Regions from separate parts of the Homo sapiens genome. Here region 1 is linked to region 2. Evidence: promoter capture Hi-C in human tissues and cell types (Jung and others, 2019). All regions are on one chromosome and are shown on one strand. Each heading gives the region's core, a stretch centred on a gene start or on the middle of the fragment in contact. The rest is flanking DNA. Distances are from core to core; before and after follow the strand shown. Region 1 overlaps LOC124903152 (a long non-coding RNA gene). Region 2 holds the start of ZAR1L (zygote arrest 1 like).

The links. The method cuts DNA at HindIII sites, captures the fragments that hold promoters and counts their contacts. A contact is called where the count stands out against the background at its distance.
Region 1: a fragment that was not itself captured here is called in contact with the fragment with the promoter of ZAR1L in region 2 in 1 of the 25 tissues and cell types used here (dorsolateral prefrontal cortex).

What each region holds. Positions count from the first base shown.
Region 1 is chr13:33,340,727-33,344,560 of GRCh38, reverse strand. The region is part of intron 2 of LOC124903152 (a long non-coding RNA gene); the gene reads right to left. It also overlaps a transcript of STARD13 not described here. Among named protein-coding and RNA genes, the nearest start is that of LINC02344, 7.4 kb to the right of the region's middle. The HindIII fragment of the contact is 7,040 bases long and covers 1-3,834 here.
Region 2 is chr13:32,313,039-32,316,612 of GRCh38, reverse strand. ZAR1L (zygote arrest 1 like) reads left to right here and starts at 1,250. Exons shown (of 6, transcript NM_001136571.2): 1 at 1,250-1,298; 2 at 2,063-2,283. BRCA2 (BRCA2 DNA repair associated) reads right to left here and starts at 1,105. Exons shown (of 27, transcript NM_000059.4): 1 at 946-1,105; 2 at 86-191. The coding sequence starts at 152. RefSeq lists an enhancer at 446-715, a promoter at 824-1,320, a cis regulatory region at 1,649-1,715 and a silencer at 1,834-2,054. The HindIII fragment of the contact is 8,154 bases long and covers 1-1,952 here.

The sequences.
Region 1 (3,834 bases), core at 864-3,363, 1.0 Mb before region 2:
TTGGGACTTCAATGCAAAGCAAGATCAAGAATAAAACATGAGCCACAAAAACTTCCTCTTAACATCTAAATGTGTTCTATAATATCAAAAGTACAGGATGATACTCAACTATTCTTTTCATGTATTTTATATCCGTTTTATCATCACTTTTCTGTGTAGAATTGACCATTCTATTCTGTCAGCATTTTTTGTTTGTTTTTTAAACATCTTTTGAGATGATACTACGTTTAGATGCTATTTATATTAACAATAACAAAAAAATCTAAGTCAAGAAAATATACAATTAAAATTAGAAAAGAAGAGCACATCACTTATATCAGGGTTGTCAACTTTAGCCACATAGACTCATTTGGAGCCTTTCAGAAGTACTAATTCTCTGACCTCCTCCCGGAGATTCTGATTCAATTCAGATGGGGTCTTGGTATCCATATTTTTAAAAGCCCTGCAGAAGATTTCACTGTGCAGTCCAGGTTGAGAACCACTGACTTACCTTAATTCCCACATAATAACTTGCAGAATTCTGGGGCGAATACAGGGTTATATTCTAAGCCCTAAGAAAAGTTTTGCTTAATTGAGGTCAGAAGGAACTTGTCCTATCACAGGGACAGAAAAAAAAAGATCAGTCGTGCCTGGAGAATAATGAAATAGGTGGTAAGAGTGGATGTCAGAAGTGTAGACAGAGGGTCAGGTTATAAGATAAAGTTAGGCTTTGTTGGCAGGAAAAGAAGTTTTGATTTGGTTCTACAGGAGATAAGAACAAAGGGCTTCAAGCAGAGGAGTGACAAGACCTGAATAAATTACTACCAGTGATGGTCTAGGTGAGAGATAAACAGTGACATGGACTAGGGTGATAGTGATAGAAATGGAGAGAAAGGAACAGATTTGGAGTGTGTCTTGAAATAGAGACAATAACAGGTTGGTTGTTGGAAGCTAGGGAGAGGGACTACTAGATTTGTAGATTTGTTTTTTTTTTTTTTTTTTTTAAGACAGGGTCTCAATCTGTTGCCCAGTCTGGAGTACGGTGATGGAATCATGGCTCAGTGCAGCCTCAACCTTGAAGACTCAAGCGTCCTCCCACATCAGCCTTCCGAGTAGCTGGGACTACAGGCTTGCGTCACCACTCCTGGCTAATTTTTGCATTTTTGTAGAGATGGGGTTTCTTCATGTTGCCCAGACCAGTCTGGTCTCAAACTCCTGGGCTCAAACAATGTTCCCACCTCCACCTCCCAAGGTGCTGGGATGATAGGCATGAGCCACCGAGCCCAGCCAGATTTTTTTTTTTAATTAATAATTTTTTTTAATTTTACTATTATTATACTTTAAGTTTTAGGGTTTTGATCTGAGCAGCTAAGTGGAGTGTAGCAATGTTGGCCAAGATGAGGATAACTGGCAGATTTGCATGGGAGAGAAAAAGGACTCAAAGGTTCTCTGTTGGCTCCATTAGCTTTGGAATGCCTACTAGACATCCAAAAGTAAAAGTCAAGGAATTGGATGCATAAGTATCGGCTTTGTAGGAAAGTCAGAGCCAGAGATATAATGTGGGAATTATTGGCATATGACTACTTTATAAAACTTGGGAACTGGGTGGAGCTACTTAGAAGAGATTGCAGATAAGGGGAAGGGGCCAAGGGCCAAGTCCTGGGGGGCTCTTTGGTTAGAGTGCAATATTTGGACATAAATATGTCCATATGCAAGTACTATTAGTACATACGCACGTACTAAATTTTCAGGAAAATAGAAAGAGAGCAACATTATTTCTAAATTCAACATTCTTCTATCACAATAGTACTGCTATATTACATAATCTTTTGTGATAGAGTTACAAATTTGGTCCTAGAACTGTTGATGGACAAAAATAATCATTGATGGGCATGGTGGCTCGTGCCTCTGTGCTCCCAGCTACTCAGGAGGCTGAGGCGGGAAGATAGCTCTTGCCCAGGAATTCAAAGATTCAGTAAGCTATGATCATGCGACTGCCCTTCAGCCTGGGTGGCACAGTGAGACCCCATGTCTTAAAAAAAAAAAAACAAACTATAAAAAAACCCTCACTGATCAAATGCCTTTTTAATTTAAAAATTATATTGCAAAGTAAAAAAGCAAACAAACTTTTTTTAAGGAAAATACTTCTCAAGTTGCCTGCATATGCACAAAAAAGAAAAACACAGTTTATTAAATAAAAAATGTTTTTAGCATGAGCACTCCTCTGGTTACTATAACTGGTTGGGCCTACGTATAATGGGATAAGAGCTTTACTTTTGGCAGGACTTGGCCAGTGTCCTGATACCCAGGAATAGTCTGATCAAACAAAGCTTAGCTCTTAGGAAAGGCTGTGCATATTGATTTTTCCAATATAGCATCCATTTACTGACCTTTAAGGGTTATGCTTTGCCTCTGACACCACTGGTTAAGGTAAAATTTTTCAGAGCATATAAATAGATAACCAATGTCTTAAATGTTTGTATTTGTGGCCTGGCAGAGTGGCTTATGCCTGTAATCCCAGCACTTAGGGAAGCTGTCCGTGGCGGGCAGATCCCTTGAGGTCAAGAGTTTAAGACCAGCCTGGCCAACATGGTGAAACCTCGTATCTACTAAAAATACAAAAATTAGCCGGGTATGGTGGGGATATGCCTGTAATTCCAGCTACTCCAGAGGCTGAGGCAGGGGAATCACTTGAACCCAAGAGGAGGAGGTTGCAGTGAGCTGAGATTGTACCAGTGCACTCCAGCCTGGGCCACAGAGCTTCCATCTCAAAAAAAAAAAAAGTTTGCATTTGTAAAGGGTGTAACTTAACCTTGGCCTAACCTATCTGCAATATGCTGGCCCACCCTGGGGGGCAATACAGCGTCCTCCTTGAATTGGAAAAAAGAAAGACCATATTCATTAATTGCTGGTGGCTGCTCTGAATAAGAGGCACAAGCCCAGCTGGTTCGCTGAAATTTCTTTTTTTCTTCTTCTTTTTTTTTTTTTTTGGAGACGGAGTCTCGCTCTGTCGCCCAGGCTGGAGTGCAGTGGCACGATCTTGACTCACTGCAACCTCCACCTCCCGAGTTGAAGCCACCACACCCGGCTAATTTTTTTGTATTTTTAGTAGAGACAGGATTTCACCATGTTAGCGAGGTTGGTCTTGATATCCTGACCTTGTGATCCGCCCACCTCGGCCTCTCAAAGTGCTGGGATTACAGGCTTGAGGCACCGCGCCATGCCGTTCACGGAAATTTCTTGAGAGGACCGCAGAATATGATTTTTTGTAAGCCACCAACTTGATCATTTAGACATAGAGCATGTCTAATGAAATTAATATCTACTTCTCTTTTGTGCTTTTTACATCTTATGTTGAACAAAGCACATATGGAGAAAATTTTGCTTTAAGACTTTGTGAAGTTTCCTAGGGGTTTATCCAACAGTATATTTCTATTCTGTCCTTTTGCAAGTTTAGCAAGCTTGTAAAATTAAAATAAAAGTGGTTTTAAAAGTCTTACAACATTTCTGGGCTTTTTTCAGAGTCCTTGAATGTTTAGTCCTAAAAGAGTTGAGTTGAAGGACAAACATTTTTGTCACGTTTGTAGTTAGTCCATAAGTATTTATTGAGCCATGAAATAGCATCCTTGTCAAAGCATGTTGGGACAGTAGTGCAGGATATTAATTCAGTACCATGGCTGTATCTTGGTGAGGCACATAAATTTTACTATGCTGCCCAAATCACTTAACTCATCTATCTGACCAGAAATGAAGCAAGCTTCCAGAAATTGCACAAGAGCAGTATAGAATGTAGCATGACTACACAATATTTTATTTGCAAATCTGCTGTGTCAAGACATCTTACACTCTCAGGCA
Region 2 (3,574 bases), core at 1-2,500:
TGTGACGTACTGGGTTTTTAGCAAGCATTTTTTAGAAAACACTTTCTCGGTGTAATTTATAAAGTTATATAAAATTTGTCAATACCTGCTTTGTTGCAGCGTGTCTTAAAAATTTCAAAAAATGTTGGCCTCTCTTTGGATCCAATAGGCATTTTTACCTACGATATTCCTCCAATGCTTGGTAAATAAGTCTGCAAAACAGAAGACCAAAATGCACTTACACAGGGATGCATTCCTTATTATGTGACTGAGGTAAAACTCAGAAGCGCTGGAAAATTTGTTTGAATTCTAATTCAGTCCCATCTCCTGGAACGGTAACAGCTTACTGTGAGGATGGGAACATTTTACAGCTGTGCTGTCCAAACCGGTGCCACTAGCCACATTAAGCACTCGAAACGTGGCTAGTGCGACTAGAGAAGAGGATTTTCATACGATTTAGTTTCAATCACGCTAACCAGTGACGCGTGGCTAGTGGGGACAGAGGGCTCCAGTTAGAGACCAACGCCGCCTGGTAATTCCCATCAGCATGTCTTCGGAATACAGCAATTACCAGGGGCTTAAGTAAGGCAAATACAGCGTGCCCAGCAGCTGTAAAACACTTCCCCAAAACAGCAATATTCCGTTAAAGTGATCGTGTTTCCAAGAAATTTCAGATGGCGTCATCTGGGACAGCTGGGAGGGAAGTTAAGTCTTGAGCTGAAGGCGGAGCCCAAAGGCCGGGCCGGAGGCGGGAAATGGAGACCCAGGGAAGGGGCGGGGCTCGAATTTGCTTGGCGAAAATCTGCCTTCGGGCAAGGACCTTTCTCTCAGGCATGGGTGGGGGTTGGCAGAGACAAAAGGGCAAGAAGCCGCGGCAGCGACCCGGGGCGTGAGGCGCTCCCCCGCCACGCTGGACTGGGACTGCGGAAGACGCGCTCGTCCCAACCCACTACCACCACCACTAACCCGCTCCAGAGGTGCAGTTCTTTTTTGGCCGGAGTAAGCTGACAAAAACCGCGCCGGTCACAAATCTGTCCCCTCACGCTTCTCCCGGCGGCGACCCACCGCCGCAAAAGACACCCGAGGCGCAGCAGAGGCGCAGCAGTGCCACAGCGGCTCCGCCTCTGCCGCCTAGTTTCAGAAGCTCGCGCCACAAGCCCGCGCTGGCCACGTGACGCCGTGACGCGACACGCAGCACACGCACCACCCGGAAGTCAGGCCTGGGTGGGCCGCTGCGGGTATTTCTCAGTGTGGCGAAAGGAAATTCCTTGTCAGGCATCCCAACCGTCAGTATCTGACCGAATAAAGCGGGAGCTGGAGTGTGTGTTCTCTTCTCGCTGACCCTTAAGAGTCCCAGGCCACCCTGCTTGGAGGGGCCGCCCCTATGCCTACTCCAAGTCCCCCATCCCTTTCTTTTTGCTCCAGCTCATGTTTGGGTGGGCGCCCTCGGGACACGACCTGGGACCTATGAAATACCTTTGTTCTGACCTTAAAAGGGATGTTCTCTCAAGACCTGTTCCCCAAAGCGAGCCGATCTTACAAAAGCTTAGAGTGGTCGGTGTGTGGTTGTGGATGACTTCACTTAGTGGTAGTGGGCGGGGCTGTTATTTGAAATCAGAGGATTTTAGTTCCAGTAGCTGTTCTGCTATTGGGTAGCAGGTGTTCAAGACCTCCGAGCCCGTTTCCTTGCTTGAAAAATTGTGAAACCCATCTTAACTCGCTCATGAAGTGTGAGGTACCTTGCTCCGCAGGGCTTGGTAGTATCTTTTGCTTTTTTTTTTGAGACGGAGTTTCGCTCTTGTGGCCCGGGCTGGTGTGCAATGGCGCAATCTCCGCTCACCGCAACTTCCGCCTCCAGGGATCAAGTGGTTCTCCTGCCTCAGCCTCCCGAGTAGCTGGGAATACAGGCATGGGCCACCACGCACGGCTAACTTTGCATTTTTAAGTAGAGACGGGGTTTCTCCGTTGTTGGTCAGTCTGGTCTCAACCTCCCGACCTCAGGTGATCTGCCTGCCTCGGCCTCCCAAAGCGCTGGGATTACAGGCATGAGCCACCACACCCGGCCCATCTTTTGCATTCTTAGGATTCGGATCACCTGTCTTCCTCGCAGGCTGAACTGGAAGACCTGACTTCATCTCCGAATTCGTTGGTTCTGTAACATGCCTAATACAAGGCTGAATAGGGTTTGTTGTAAGACCTACAAAACCTTCAAATGGATTCAGTGAGAGTTGCTCCCATGGGGGCCTTGCTGCTTCCAGAAGGTGCTTGAGCAGTAAACAGAAGCAACCTTGGATTAGGAAAAGGGTGGGCTCCGCTTGGTTCCTTAGGGACCATTTTAGTTTGATAATCAGTAATCCTTAGTTGTAGAAGGAGGCCTTACTAATGCAGATAGATTCTAAAGCTTTTGCTCTAAGTCTAATTCGCAAAGAAATACGTCTGTGATCCTTACTAATAACAGCTGCCACTTACCAAACATTTTATGAGTTAGGCATTCTGCTTTGGGTTTTCAAGCAATACCATGTTTAATCTTACAGTAATCCTGTAAATTGGTCAGTATTGTCAGATGAGGATACTGAATCAAGTAGTTAAGTAATGTGCCTGGTAGTAAGGCCCAGGTTTGAATTCTAGTCCATTTGACTTCATACACTTAACTAACCTGTGATTTATTTACCCTATAAATCAGAACAATATGCTTTGTCCCCTTTTTGTGGGGGAGGGGTGTCTCACTAGGAGTGGACTAATGAGAACCCGTGGCATGTCACACAAGTCTCAGAAATAACATTTTCTGTCATTTTATACAGCCCCCCATACCTTTATGTTTCTTGTTCTCTTTGTACCAGGGACTTGCAACTTATTAGCTCCACCATAATAGACTTTCTCACCTATTCTCTTCTAGTGCAGCTGCTCAATTTACTATTTGTATTCAATTTACAATATGCTTTAATTTTTCTTAAAAACATTATTTCCAGCTGGGCATGGTGGCTCACGCCTGTAATCACAGCACTTTGGGAGGCCAAGGTGGGCAGATCACCTGAGGTCAGGAGTTCGAGACCAGCCTGGCCAACATGGCAAAACCCTGTCTCTACTAAAAATACAAAAATTAACTGGGTGTGGTGGCATGTGCCTGTAATCCCAGCTACTTGGGAGGCTGAGGTGGGAGAATCACTTGAACCCCAGAGGCGGAAGTTGCAGTGAGCCGAAATCATGCCACTGCACTCCTGCCTGGGAGACAGAGCAAGGAAACTCCATTTCAAACAAGCAAACAAACAAAAACCCAAAAAACCATTATTTCCTAAAAGTTGTATATATTTAATGTGCACAACATGTATATGTACACAGTGAGATGATTACTATAGTCAAGCAATTAACATATCCATCTGTTCACATAATTACCTTTCTTTTGTGTGCGGTGAGAGCACCTGAAATTTCTCTTTGAAACTTTTCAGTATAAAATACAGTATTGTTAACTGTAGTCGTTATGCTGTAAATTAGATCTCTAGACTCATTCATTCTACCTAACTGTAACATTTTAGGCTCTGACCAGTCTCTCTCCATTCCCCCCAACTTCCTGTCCCTGGTAACCACCATTCTACTT